Regions from separate parts of the Homo sapiens genome. Here region 1 is linked to region 2. Evidence: promoter capture Hi-C in 16 types of primary human blood cells and fetal thymus (Javierre and others, 2016). All regions are on one chromosome and are shown on one strand. Each heading gives the region's core, a stretch centred on a gene start or on the middle of the fragment in contact. The rest is flanking DNA. Distances are from core to core; before and after follow the strand shown.

Region 1 (2,766 bases), core at 226-2,725, 230 kb after region 2:
GTCTTGGGTGGGGAGGTATAAGCAGTTTTCTCTGTCTAGCAGGGGAAACATGAGTTTCTCATTAGGACTTAGTTTTGGGAAAACCACCCTAAGGGCCCTTTAGCTACAAAGGGAGCCCCCACTGTGGTTCTCAGGAACCTCCTGGAAGCCCCCCACAGCTCCCTGGGGCTGGTAACCACACCCCTGAGGCTTCTTGCTCTGGTTTTGTCTCTGTTTTAAGAGTGTAAGCTCACAGAGAAGTGTTTCCTATACTCCAAGTGCATTGAGAACACAAGGTACCTGCTTGTTCTGGTAAGGCTGAGTATTTTTGTTTTGTTTGTTTAATTTTTGAATTTTAGAGTTATCTATAGGATAGAAAAAGATATTCTCCTTCATTTTCTACTAACATCTTTTTTCAGTTCTGCCTTTCATGGTTGCATTTTATTCTATTTGAAGATTTTTTTCTCTGCATGGAGACCTGATATTCTCAACACCACGTATCAATCACAGACTCCCACTTGTGGGTCCACTTCCAGCATGAACAGAAAGAAGGGTTCCTGAAGCTCCTTCTGGCTGCCCCATCTCACCCATTGGTCCGTGTACTCCTTTACTCCCGTCTCACCCGCCGGTCCGCGTACTCCTTTACTCCTGTCTCACACCTTTCAACCGTCTGCCTTAGTAACTGTAGAGGGGGTTCCTTCCTGTTGGCGCTTCTTCCCAAGAATTGTAGTAGGAATTCAGGGAATTTTATTTTTCCATCCAAATTTTGGAAGCAGTTGTCCCCATTGCTAAAAATTCCCGCTGGAAGCTTCCTTTTGAATCACATTAATTGTACAGGGTACTTCAGTAAGAATGTTACTTCATTCTTACTGTTCATTCTCCCTGTTCCCTAAGAATGTTACTTCAGTAAGAGCTGGCTGGTCCTGGGAGGGGCCCTCGAAGGGCCAGCAAGGCTCCAAGGCTCCAAGGCTTCAAAGCACTAGAAAATACAAAAAAAAAATTTTTTAAATGGATGATGTGGCATGGACACTTTATAATTTTGAGAACGATTTTTCACCAACATGGTTATTCTACCATTTATTTAGATGTTCTTTCATGCCCTTTGATAGCATTTTAAATTTTTCTACATAAAGATTCTGTATTTTTGTTAATTCCTTGATGCTTCATACTTCTGCAGTGATGTAATAATCGTTTCAAAAATTACTCTTGGGCCGGGCGCGGTGGCTCATGCCTGTAATCTCAGCACTTTGGGACGCCGAGGTGGGCGGATCATCTGAGGTCAGGAGTTCGAGACCAGCCTGGCCAACATGGCAAAACCCCATCTCTACTAAAAATATGACAATTAGCCAGGTGTGGTGGCACACGCCTGTAGTCCCAGCTACCCGGGAGGCTGAGGCAGGAGGATTGCTTGAACCTGGGAGACAGAGGTTGCAGTGAGCCAAGATCACGCCACTGTACTCCAGCCTGGGCAAGAACAGAGCGAGACTCTCTTTCAAAAAAAAAAATTACTCTTGACAGTATGGATTATATGGAGAACCACTACTGCTTGTGTAGAGGTTGTATGAAGACAGACCCCAGGGTACAAGAGGACCTGTGGATGTTCCAGATGAGGAGTGCACAGCCCCAGAGTGAGGGACTCCATCATGTACAATGGATGGACTTCCTATTCAACCCACAATCATGACAAACAGAAAATTGTGGTGGTTTTCAGTCACTACAGACTGAGATGGTTTGTTAAGCAGTGATAGTGTCTTTCAAAGAGCAGATATTTTAAATTTTGATGAAGTCCAATTTATCAGCGTTTTCTTTTAGGGATCATGGTTTTGGTATCCTCTTTTATAAATATTTACCTGCATCAAGGTCATTCAGATTTTCTTACTTCAGAAGTTTTACAGTTTTGGCTTTACCATTTAGGTCTGTATTCCATTTCAAGTTGACATTTGTACACGGCATAAAGTAAAGTGGAGGCAGAGGTTTTTTAGTTTCAAATGTTTTCGTCTGAATATTCAACTGTTTCGGCACCATTTGTTGAAGAGAATATTCTTTCTCCATTGAACTACCTTGACAACTTTGTAAAAAAATTAAGTGGCCATATATGTATAGTTGAGTCTATTCCTGGACTCTGTATTTTGTTCCATGGATCTGTACATCTGCAACTGCCAACATCACACTATACTGATTACTAAAGCTTTATATTAGTCTTGAAATTAGACTGCACTGCACTGGAGTGCAGTGGCCCGATCTCGGCTCACTGCAGACTCCGCCTCCTGAGTTCAAGCGATTCTCCTGTCTCAGCCTTCGGAGTAGCTGGGACTACAGGCATGCACCAGCACGCCCAGCTAATTTTTATATTTTTTAGTAGAGACGGGGTTTCACCATGTTGGCCAGGCTGGTCTCGAACTCCTGACCTCAGGTAATCTGCCCGCCTTGGCCTCCCAAAGTGCTGGGATGACAGGTGTGAGCCACCATGCCCAGCCAAAATTTTAGAATCATTTTGTCAAGAAACTGAAGTATCCAGGAACAAACAAACAAAAGGTTGGTGGGATTTTTAATGAGATTGTGTTGAATCTATTGATCAATTTGGGAAAATTGCCATCTTAGCAATATTGAGTTATCCATCCATGAGCATGGTATACAGATCATTTATTTAGGTTTTCTTTAATTTCCCTCAGCAATGTTTTATAATTTTCACTGCATAGGTCTTACATAGGTTTTCGAATTCTGTTCCTATTTCATGTTTTGATGCTGTTATAAATGATACTGCTTCTTAATTTCAATTTCCAGAAG
Region 2 (2,700 bases), core at 1-2,500:
GCCAGTCAGGCTGGGCCTCAGAGAGCTGAGTAGGAAGGAGGGCCGCAGCTGCTCCTTGTCGCCTGAGGAGTAGAGGAAGTGCTTGGTCTCGGCGTACACCGGGGGACAAGGCGTGTCCCAGGGACGTGGTGGCCGCGATGTGGATGGGGGGCCCGCGTGGTGCTGGCGGCCCACGGATGGGTGGGAGTGGCGCGTGCCAGAGAGCGCACCCTCCAAAGAGGTGGCTTCTTCGGCGGGTCTGGCAGGTGACACCACACAGAAACCACGGTCACTCGGTCCACGCGTCCTGCCCGGGTGGGCCCAGGACCCCTGCCCAACGGGCGTCCGCTCCGGCTCAGGGGCAGCGCCACGCCTGGGCCTCTTGGGCAACGGCAGACTTCGGCTGGCACTGCCCCCGCGCCTCCTCGCACCCGGGGCTGGCAGGCCCAGGGGGACCCCGGCCTCCCTGACGCTATGGTTCCAGGCCCGTTCGCATCCCAGACGCCTTCGGGGTCCACTAGCGTGTGGCGGGGGCCGGGCCTGAGTGGCAGCGCCGAGCTGGTACAGCGGCGGCCCGCACACCTGGTAGGCGCAGCTGGGAGCCACCAGCACAAAGAGCGCGCAGCGTGCCAGCAGGTGAACCAGCACGTCGTCGCCCACGCGGCGCAGCAGCAGCCCCCACGCCCCGCTCCCCCGCAGTGCGTCGGTCACCGTGTTGGGCAGGTAGCTGCGCACGCTGGTGGTGAAGGCCTCGGGGGGGCCCCCGCGGGCCCCGTCCAGCAGCGCGAAGCCGAAGGCCAGCACGTTCTTCGCGCCGCGCTCGCACAGCCTCTGCAGCACTCGGGCCACCAGCTCCTTCAGGCAGGACACCTGCGGGGGAAGCGCCCTGAGTCGCCTGCGCTGCTCTCCGCATGTCGCTGGTTCCCCCCGGCCGCCCTCAACCCCAGCCGGACGCCGACCCCGGGGAGGCCCACCTGGCGGAAGGAGGGGGCGGCGGGGGGCGGCCGTGCGTCCCAGGGCACGCACACCAGGCACTGGGCCACCAGCGCGCGGAAAGCCGCCGGGTCCCCGCGCTGCACCAGCCGCCAGCCCTGGGGCCCCAGGCGCCGCACGAACGTGGCCAGCGGCAGCACCTCGCGGTAGTGGCTGCGCAGCAGGGAGCGCACGGCTCGGCAGCGGGGAGCGCGCGGCATCGCGGGGGTGGCCGGGGCCAGGGCTTCCCACGTGCGCAGCAGGACGCAGCGCTGCCTGAAACTCGCGCCGCGAGGAGAGGGCGGGGCCGCGGAAAGGAAGGGGAGGGGCTGGGAGGGCCCGGAGGGGGCTGGGCCGGGGACCCGGGAGGGGTCGGGACGGGGCGGGGTCCGCGCGGAGGAGGCGGAGCTGGAAGGTGAAGGGGCAGGACGGGTGCCCGGGTCCCCAGTCCCTCCGCCACGTGGGAAGCGCGGTCCTGGGCGTCTGTGCCCGCGAATCCACTGGGAGCCCGGCCTGGCCCCGACAGCGCAGCTGCTCCGGGCGGACCCGGGGGTCTGGGCCGCGCTTCCCCGCCCGCGCGCCGCTCGCGCTCCCAGGGTGCAGGGACGCCAGCGAGGGCCCCAGCGGAGAGAGGTCGAATCGGCCTAGGCTGTGGGGTAACCCGAGGGAGGGGCCATGATGTGGAGGCCCTGGGAACAGGTGCGTGCGGCGACCCTTTGGCCGCTGGCCTGATCCGGAGACCCAGGGCTGCCTCCAGGTCCGGACGCGGGGCGTCGGGCTCCGGGCACCACGAATGCCGGACGTGAAGGGGAGGACGGAGGCGCGTAGACGCGGCTGGGGACGAACCCGAGGACGCATTGCTCCCTGGACGGGCACGCGGGACCTCCCGGAGTGCCTCCCTGCAACACTTCCCCGCGACTTGGGCTCCTTGACACAGGCCCGTCATTTCTCTTTGCAGGTTCTCAGGCGGCGAGGGGTCCCCACCATGAGCAAACCACCCCAAATCTGTTAATCACCCACCGGGGCGGTCCCGTCGAGAAAGGGTGGGAAATGGAGCCAGGCGCTCCTGCTGGCCGCGCACCGGGCGCCTCACACCAGCCACAACGGCCTTGACCCTGGGCCCCGGCACTCTGTCTGGCAGATGAGGCCAACATCTGGTCACATCCCGCCCGCACAGGGTGGAGGGCAACCTCGGGGTCCAGGCACCTGGCTCCAAGCCTCGGACTGCAGAGCTAGGAGGCCCGACTTCCAGCCCAGCAGTAGAAGCCACACGGCCACTGGTCCCCTCCAGACCTGGGGCCCCGGCACAACCGCAGGACAGCTGAGGACTTCCCAGGAATCCAGACTCCGGGTTGCTCAAGTTTGGATCTAAGGGGCGAGAAACTTCTGGGTCTCCCGAGGCCTTGCAGGGATGCTGTAGCTGAGGTCGGCAAACACTGAAATGCTAACAAACGCAACCTTAAATGTAACCTTTCCTACTTTCAGAAACTGCCGGAGGAAATTGCTTTATTTATGGAGCTAGCATTTGAACAGGCCTCGCACCCTCCCTGGGCTGTCACGCTCGCTGGAGGTTAGCCTCGTCTTGTAAATACTTAGGATTACAGGTCGCTCTTCTAGAAATCCCCTTAGTGATCCCTAAGCCTTTTTAAAGGGCTGTGTTTGTGAATTGTCTCTGCCACTAGGGCAAAGGGGCGGTTTGGAAAATTTGTTCCAACAAAAGTTAAGTTGTAGCTTACACTGGTTCTCTGC

What was found. The method cuts DNA at HindIII sites, captures the fragments that hold promoters and counts their contacts. A CHiCAGO score of 5 or more calls a contact.
Region 1: a contact is called between a fragment that was not itself captured here and the fragment with the promoter of TERT in region 2, in 1 of 17 cell types (naive CD4 T cells). The highest score is 5.6, in naive CD4 T cells.

The regions. Positions count from the first base shown.
Region 1 is chr5:1,527,133-1,529,898 of GRCh38, forward strand. No RefSeq gene overlaps it. Among named protein-coding and RNA genes, the nearest start is that of LPCAT1, 4.6 kb to the left of the region's middle. The HindIII fragment of the contact is 1,380 bases long and covers 786-2,165 here.
Region 2 is chr5:1,293,818-1,296,517 of GRCh38, forward strand. It overlaps TERT (telomerase reverse transcriptase), which reads right to left and starts at 1,251. Exons shown (of 16, transcript NM_198253.3): 1 at 954-1,251; 2 at 1-849. The coding sequence starts at 1,172. RefSeq lists promoters at 811-2,700, 811-1,502, cis regulatory regions at 816-1,172, 1,175-1,207, 1,277-1,285, 1,297-1,305, enhancers at 1,199-1,241, 1,212-1,928 and silencers at 1,338-1,407, 1,508-1,597. The HindIII fragment of the contact is 13,041 bases long and covers 1-2,700 here.